Regions from separate parts of the Homo sapiens genome. Here regions 2 and 3 are each linked to region 1. The links are contacts of gene promoters, found by promoter capture Hi-C in human tissues and cell types (Jung and others, 2019). All regions are on one chromosome and are shown on one strand. The core of a region is centred on a gene start or on the middle of the fragment in contact, and the rest is flanking DNA. Distances in the headings are between cores, read along the strand shown. Region 1 holds the start of SHC4 (SHC adaptor protein 4). Region 2 overlaps SECISBP2L (SECIS binding protein 2 like). Region 3 overlaps SHC4 (SHC adaptor protein 4).

Evidence for each region. Contacts are between HindIII fragments. The study calls those that stand out against the background at their distance.
Region 2: a contact is called between a fragment that was not itself captured here and the fragment with the promoter of SHC4 in region 1, in 3 of the 25 tissues and cell types used here (IMR-90 fibroblasts, adrenal gland and aorta).
Region 3: a fragment that was not itself captured here is called in contact with the fragment with the promoter of SHC4 in region 1 in 1 of the 25 tissues and cell types used here (bladder).

Annotation. Positions count from the first base shown.
Region 1 is chr15:48,962,419-48,965,255 of GRCh38, forward strand. SHC4 (SHC adaptor protein 4) reads right to left here and starts at 1,501. Exons shown (of 12, transcript NM_203349.4): 1 at 13-1,501. The coding sequence starts at 597. RefSeq lists enhancers at 1-477, 478-979. The HindIII fragment of the contact is 15,905 bases long and covers 1-2,837 here.
Region 2 is chr15:49,018,134-49,020,970 of GRCh38, forward strand. SECISBP2L (SECIS binding protein 2 like) reads right to left here. Exons shown (of 18, transcript NM_001193489.2): 8 at 1,285-1,419. Among named protein-coding and RNA genes, the nearest start is that of SECISBP2L, 27 kb to the right of the region's middle. The HindIII fragment of the contact is 7,040 bases long and covers 1-2,837 here.
Region 3 is chr15:48,918,817-48,921,653 of GRCh38, forward strand. The region is part of intron 2 of SHC4 (SHC adaptor protein 4); the gene reads right to left. Among named protein-coding and RNA genes, the nearest start is that of EID1, 42 kb to the left of the region's middle. The HindIII fragment of the contact is 9,487 bases long and covers 1-2,837 here.

The DNA.
Region 1 (2,837 bases), core at 251-2,750:
AAATGGACTTACCCTCACACAGTAGTTCATGCCCATCCCCAACAGGTGCTGTAGAAAGTGCCTGTCCTGCCTGCTCCTAAGTGTTGGCTCCCCAGGGCCAGGAAGCGGGCACGAATCAGGGGTTAGGGCGGTTGCCCTGTGTCCCACCAGGTCCTGCTGCGGTGGAGGTGCAGTCCCGGACCTACTTAAACTGGTTTCTGGGGAAGAGGGGCCGCTGGAACCTGGGTCCCGGCTTTCCTGGAGCTTCAGCCGAGGCACCTCTTTGGTACCCAGGCAAAAGTTTTTCAGACTCAGCAAAGTGGCCGGGTTGGCCAGCTTCATGCTTGCCATGCGGGGGATCAAGGTGCACAGTGGGGTGGGGCTCTCCTGCGACGGCAAGGTGGCATCTTCAGTCGGCAGGTGAGGTGCCAGGGCGGGGTGGGGAGGCTGCGGCGAGCCCTTGTTCCCGACCGAGCCTCCGGAGCTACCTTCGTCCAAGGACGTGATCGACTCGTTCCGAAAGCGGCTGTACTTGGCCCTGTGCAGCATCCCGGGGTGCCCGAAGAGTCCTACATACAGCACGAGTCCTGCCAGGCTGTCCTGGCCGCGTTCTCGCATAGCCTTGGCAGTGCTGAAACAGGATACTGTTGCATAAATCGCCTCGTCGTCTGGTAGATAAACGGTGCAGACATCAGATACCTCAACGCCCGATGCAACTCACAGCAGCCACCTCTCCAACTCTGCTCTCGAGCTCGCCCACCTCGGCTCCCGGCCCCTTAAGGGTGACAGCCCATGGGGGAAACGCCTCCCCTGCTCTGATTTCAGTCTCTCCCTGGCCCAGGCAGAGGCACCAGTGTTCTCGCCTTGGAATCCTTGTCGGGAGAGCCTAGACCCAGGCTCCCGGCGGCGCGGGTCGCTCACGGCCAACTCTTAGGCGCAGAACCCGGGCGAGCGCCGGTCGGGGGGCCCGCTGCATCACTAGCCTTGCAGGAGCCTAGTAGAAATATTTAGCACCCGACTCCCACCCTCACCCCAGCCTTCTGTTCTGCACACAGGAACTTTCGAACCTGCTCCCTTCGGCTCTCACAGGGCGGGGCAAATGACTGGCCTATTAACCCTTTATTTGTTCCAGTGATTGTTCATTTAAAAAGGAAAAAAAAATGTATCTATGAACCAAAGGCCCTTTTGCCTGGGTTCGTTGATTCCAAAGGCTGCCCTCTCTTGGAAGATCTTGTCTTGCATCCCGTTCTGGGCCACCAGCCAGGAGTACTACTGACGGGCGCTGCTCCGCATTGTTTCACTGACTTGTGATGGGTCCGTGTTCCTCAGATCCCCTCCCAGCCTGCCTACCCTCGCTCAGAGCTTCCCTCCCTCCTGGATTCCTCTCGGAGCTTTTTTCAGAAGCCCATTTGCAGCCGAAAGCTGAGATGTGCAGGATGATACGCAGCGTGTTGAAATTTTTATGAATGAACTTTGCCGAATGAATTTCTCTGTGTGTGTGCAAGCTAATAAATCTGTGAATGAAGCTGAGAATAGCTGTAATTGACTGACGGTCTCAGAGGTGCTTGGTTTTTATCCAATCAGGAGGCAGCTTGATGACTCATACACCATAAATATACTAAACTAGTAGCCGAGAGAAATAAAGCTAGCGGGAGAGGAGGGACGTATTTTATTTTGTGGTATCTGATGAATGAGTTAAAAGGAAAGGCAATCTTTACTACAGATCATTAGCCGGGGAGCAGCAGGTTAAAAGATCTATTTTCTTTCTTGTTGAGATGGCCGGGAGGGCAGAGCAGAAGAGCTAAAAATTAGACCCATTGTTACAGGGATATTAGGACATATGGTTCACAACTCCTGTGGGAAGCCATGATGCATTTTTCTTAGAAACATAGTTCTTTTTTTATTGATTGTTGGTTCCATCTTCCGTCTGGTGCGACTTCCTGTACCTATCAAATGCATCCTGAAGACATGATGACAACTGCAAAGGCTTAGCACACAGGAAGCCAAAACCAGAGCTGGGAAAAGGAAATGCAGGTTCTTCAGGAATGGAGAAGAGGAAACTGCTGAAACACTGGGGGTGTGGGGTGTCGGGGTGGGGTGGAAATCACACATAGGAAGAGATAAAGAACTCTCAGAAAAGATTGCATTACTCCGTGTCTCAAGGCTTTGACATCTGAAATTGTTCATTAATTAAAAAATTAAGACAAACTGGCAACCAAAGGAATTAAGGGTGCCACCTTCATTATCTTATTGTCCCTAATGCTGGATTAGGCTTATGTATATTCATGACTTTGGGAGCCTGAGCTCCCTTGGGATCCAAACACAGGTTCTGAATTAAATGGTTGAGAGTGACCAGTGAAAGCGGCATCCTCCTCCCAAGCTCCCTGGTCCCCCAGGGAAATAAAGCACCCATCACATCCTGTCTGCCAAGCCTGTTCAGACATTTCTTTCCCTGGAAAGGCCTTTCTGCATCTTCATAAATCTTCCCTTCAATCCTTGTTGACCTCCTTTTCCCTGCCCTACATCTCCTCCTGGCAAAACTGAGGGAAGTAGCTAAATCAGTTGGACCCCACATCCCTGGGGCTGAGGAGACAGGCTCTGGGCAAGAATATTTACCTCTCATTCCTCCTCATTCCTCATCTGCTTTCTTCCTCTCATTTTTCCTGCCTTCCCCTGGGTCCCTGGGTCCCTGTGTTGCTTCTGTTATGCTATGATGACCTCATTATATGCTCCCTTTAGAAAGTTACTTTACCTCTCCGTGCCTGAATGTCCTCATATGTTGGCAGCAGCCATCTAATGGGGTTGTTATGAGGGCTTACGAGGCCCAATGCTCCATACAGTGCCCATCTCACTAAGTA
Region 2 (2,837 bases), core at 154-2,653, 56 kb after region 1:
CAGTTGAGTACATGTACTACAATTGCCAGACCTGGATATATTGAAACTATTCTTGAGAAAATAATTGAGATATACTCTCAAGTCCTTTGGCTCAATTACTAAACTTATCTAACATATTATTGATTTTTTTTTTTTTTTTTGAGATGGAGTTTCACTATTGTTGCCCAGGATAGAGTGCAATGGCACAATCTCGGCTCACTGCAACCTCCACCTCCTGGGTTCAAGCAATTCTCCTGCCTCAGCCTCCCAGTTAGCTGGGATTACAGGGACCCGCCACCATGCCCAGTTAACTTTTTGTATTTTTAGTAGAGATGGGGTTTCACCACGTTGGCCAGGCTGGTCTCGAACTCCTGACCTCAAGTGATCCTGACCTCAGGTGATCTGCTTGGCCTCCCAAAGTGCTGGGATTACAGGCATTAGCCACCACGCCCAGCATATTATTGATTTCTATCCTCTGACCTCAAGCAAGTTTTCCAGTTTAACCTCCCATCTATTAACTCATTCAATAGAATTTATGATCCAACCAAAATGAGTTACTCAAATGAGTTACCGGAGATGTGTGGTGAAAAACATCTTGACACATACAAATTCTACTTGTTTTTTAAATTCATTTCAAATGTTACCTACCCTGCCACAAACCCAAAGTGACCTGTCTCTGCGCTCAACTCTAACCACACTCAACTAAGTATTAGGTGTGTATATGCCTATGTTCTTCTACTACACAGCAACTTTCCCAAAGATAGCAGGTCTATTCACCTTAATGTATCATTCAGAGCACCTTACTGCACACATATACTAGACCACCAGTAAGAATCTGTTAGATGAATAACAGTGCAATTAGGATATGAACTGTCTATCAGAGAAAGTAAAACATTTTTCTTCCTTCTCTAAAATTCTCCTGGCTGGCAGCACAACTTAACTAGACTGAACTACTCAAATCTGAAAAGCCTTTCAAATGGATTGAATAACAACAAAAATTAAGTGAAAAAGCTCCATACTAAATAAAGTCCACATGAAATCAAGTTCTACCTCTATACATTACCCCCTAAATGATGAACACACAGGACAAAAATTTATAAAAATAAACATCAGTAAAATTAATGTTAGATTAAATATATATAACCAAGACAAAAATGAGTTAATACTTCTGAGTAATTTATAATTTAATACTAGAATCACATGTTAAGACATAAAAAGTACTCACAATGTTCACAATGTAACAAATTAATTTCTTAATGGGAACATTTCCTATAACAGCTTACAAATAGAGTTTGAAAAAAATACCTCAAAATATAAAGACTCAGAATTTGGATCGCTTCTATGGGATTGACTAGAGCTTAAATGCTTATTATCTGGTCTCTTTTGCAAATTCTGTCTTCTTTCTGAGGAAGTACTGTGTCCTCGGCATCTGAATCCAACCTAAGTAAACCCCAGAGGGGAAAAAAAATCTAATTATTTTTAAATAAATGTTTCACTCAAATATATAACATACTGGCAGAAAAGTACACGCAAGTGTACAACTCAATAAATTTTCACCAAGTGCATCACTTATTTTAAAGATCAAGTTTCTGACAAGTAAGGTACTTATAAGAAAAATAGAAAAATGAGACAATTAATCCACATTGCTTTTTTCCCCTCGACATGAATATTTATTAGCAGCTTTATTCACAAAAGTGAAAACAGGAAACAAACCAGATGTTCTACAGTGGGTGAACAGTTAAACTAACTGTGGCATATCCAGATCATAGTATAGAAGTCTGTATCAACCACAAAAAGGAATAAACTACAGTATTGATAAACTCAACAACCAGAGAACCATGGAAGTGAAAAAGGCCAATCCCAAAAAGACTGTATGAAGGCATACAAAATTATTGAAACAACAAAATTAGAAAGGGAGAATAGATCAGTGGATTCTAGGGGATAAGGAGCAGTTGGTGTGGCTATGAAAGCCAACAGGAGGGTCCTTGTGATGATGGATCTGTTCTGCATCTTGACTGTATCGAGGCCAATATCTGGGTGTGATATTGCACTATAGTTTTGCAAGATGTTACCACAGGGGGGAAACTGCATATTACTTGCTTATTTTTTTTAGAGACGTGATCTTGCTCTGTTGCCCAGGCTGGAGTGCAGTGGCTTGATCATAGCTCACTACAGCCTGAACACCTAGGCTCGAGTGATTCTCTTGCCTCAGCCTCCCAAGTAGCTGGGACTACAAGCACATGCCACCACACCCAGCTAATTGTTTTATTTGTATTTTTGTAGAGACAGGGGTCTCGCTATGTTGCCCAGGCTGGTCTCAAACTGCTGACTTCAAGCAATCTTCCCACCTTGGCCTCTCAAAGTACTGAGATTAAGGCATGAGTCACATGCCTGGCTTTTTACATTACTTTTTCAGTTAGGATCTTACTCTGTCACCCAGGCAGGAGTGCAGTAGTGTGATCACAGCTCACTGCAGCCTCAACCTCCTGGGCACAAGTGATTCTTTCACCTCAGCCTCCCAAACAACTAGGACCACAGGTGTGCACCACCACACCCAGCTAATTTTTTTTATTTTCTGTAGAAGCAGGGTCTACCTATATTGTCCAGGCTGGTCTGCAACTCCTGGGCTCAAGGGATCCTCCTGCCTCGCCTCCCAAAGTGCTGGGATTACAGGCATGATTCACCGTGCCCAGCTACTCTTTAATTTAACTACTGTAAGTCTTCTGATACTTGCAGTTTATTTTTTTATAAAATAGATAAAACAATTAGGAGAATAATTTAATACAAATCTTGTTTCCAAGATTTAAGAGAATAAGCTTTTATTAAATCACATAAATTAGTATTATCATTGTATGTTA
Region 3 (2,837 bases), core at 135-2,634, 44 kb before region 1:
TTTGATTTTTTGCTAATTCTTTAAAGTGAGAGATAATCTATTTTATATCTTCTCTCTTTTTTTAAATTTACCCTTCTTTGATGGGGTTTTTCCTTCTCCCTTCTGGGTCAGGGCTTCCCAGGTCTGCTGTCACACCCAAGTAGCTGCAAGTCACAGCATTTCAAATTCAACAAGCCCCAGGGAAATAGTTCAAGAAGCTGGGATGGGGACAGGATTTTGAAGCAAGGGACTGATGTCTGGCCCTGGCACTTGGAAATCAGCCTCACTGCTTTCAAGACCTCCCTGGATAAGGTCCCTAGTCTACTGGTGGCTGGAATCTCCAGACTTCAAGTAGGACCACTTGACACCATAGGACATTTTAAAATTTGATCCTCCCCTCCAGTCAGCGTTTCCCTCTCCTGAGTTGACGGTTGAATGTTTTTGCATCCACTCTTGGGAGAAGATGCACACCCTCTCACACTCTTAAAAATTTATTTTAATTTTTTTTTTTTTTTTTTTTGTAGAGATGGGGTCTTGCTCTGTCACCTGGGCTGGAGTGCAGTGGTGTGGTCACAATTCACTGCAGCTTTGACCTTCCAGGCTCAGGTGATCCTCCCACCTTGGCCTATAGCATATCTGGGACTACAGGCTTGCACTACCATGCTTTATTTTTGGTAGAGATGGGATTTCACTCTGTTGCTCAGGCTGGTCTCAAACTCCAAGACTCAAATGATTCTCTCACCTTGGCCTCCCAAAGTGCTGGGACTACAGGTGTGAGCCACCATGCCTGACCTCTCTCACATTTTTATCAAACTCCCTGCCCAAATGTTGCCACCATGGACCCATGATGTCCATGGTCATCTTCCCTCTGCCTTCAGCTCTCTTCTTTCAGATACTTTCATGGCTGGATCCCTTACTTTATTCAGGCCCTAGCTCAAATGTCCTCTCCTTAGATAGGACTTCCTGACCACCAGATCTAAAAGTAAAAGACCATCACACTCGAGCTTCCATAACTGCTTAGAACACAATCAGCCATGCCTGAATCATGTATAGACACATCTACAAGAAACAATATCCAGATACCATACCAGATATCTTCCCCTTGGTGTGTATGTTAGACATAACTGAATCCTCAAAGGAGAGGGGAAAAAAAAAACAGTTCACCTTTTACTATTTACAAAATAATAGGGAAATATAGGCCTACAAGTTCACGGAGTTTGTTTTTTTTTTTTTTTCTGAGACGGAGTCTTGCTCTGTCACCCAGGCTGGAGTGCAGTGGCACGATCTTGGCTCACTGCAAGCTCCGCCTCCCGGGTTCACGCCATTCTCTTGCCTCAGCCTCCTGAGTAGCTGGGACTACAGGCACCTGCCACCACGCCTGGCTAATTTTTTTTTTTTTGTATTTTTAGTAGAGATGGGGTTTCACTGTGTTAGCCAGGATGGTCTCGATCTCCTGACCTCATGATCTGCCCGCCTCGGCCTCCCAAAGTGCTGGGATTACAGGCGTGAGCCACTGCGCCTGGCATGGGAATTCCAATTACCTTCAACTGTGCATGAGCAGGAGCTTTGTAATATTGCACATCTGAGTGATGAATGATCATTCTTGATAAACCCGAATAATGCACTCATTTTAATTTACAAATTCTTAACATTAGTAACTTCCTATATCTTACTTGGTAGGTTTCTAGTTGTATGTAAAAATAAAAATCTACAAATTATTCTGCCTGCCTCAGCCTCCCAAAATGCTGGGATTACAGGCATGAGCCACCGCGCCCGGCCAGAGATTTTTTTAAGTAGATAAAAATAGATAAATGGCTGGGAAAAGGGGGTACCAATTAGTACAAATAGACTGCAGAGCCATCCAGCAATACATATCAAAAGCCTTTAAAACATTTATATTGTTTGACCTAGTGATCCTAATTCTAGAATTTGTCCTTTGGAAATATAATCAAGATATATATATGATGTTAATCACAGCATTACTTATAATGATGAAAAATAGAAGAGGCCAGGCATGGTGGATCATGCCTGTAATCCCAGCACTTTGGAAGTCTGAGGTGGGAGGATCCCATGAGCCCAGAAGTTAAGATCAGCTTGGCCAACATATCGAGACTCTTGTCTCTATATATGAAGAAGAAGAAGGAGGAGAAGGAGAAGGAGAAGAAGGTGAAGAAGAAGGAGAAGGAGGAGGAGGAGGAGGAAGAGGCAGAGGAAGAGAAGAGAATGTTATGCAGTCATTAAAATTTTAGAAAAACAACCCATTTATCTATTGACTGATGGATGAATAGACAAAATGTAGTATAGACGTACAATAGAGAGTAGTATTGAGCCTTAAAAACGAATGAAATTCTGACACATGCTACAAGATGAATTAATCTTGAATACATTGTGCTAAAGGAAATAAGCCAGACAGAAAAGGACAAATACTGTATGTTTCCACTTTTATGAGGTACCTAGACCAGTCAAATCCATAGACACAAAAAGTAGAACAGTGGTTGCCAGGGGCTGGGGAGGAAGAGGAAATGGGAAGTTATCGTTTTTTTTTTTTTTTCCTTTGAGATGGAGTTTTGCTCTTGTTGCCCAGTCTGGAGTGCAATGGTGCAATCTCGGCTCACTGCAACCTCCGCCTCCCGGGTTCAAGCAATTCTCCTGCCTCAGCCTCCCAAGTAGCTGGGATTACAGGTGTGTGCCACAATGCCTGGCTAATTTTGTATTTTTTTAGTAGAAACAGGGTTTCACCATGTTGATCAGGTGATCTCAAATCCCTGACCTCAAGTGATCCATCTGCCTCAGCCTCCCAGTGCTGGGATTACAGGCGTGAGCCACCACGCCTGGCCAGAAGTTACTGTTTAATGAGT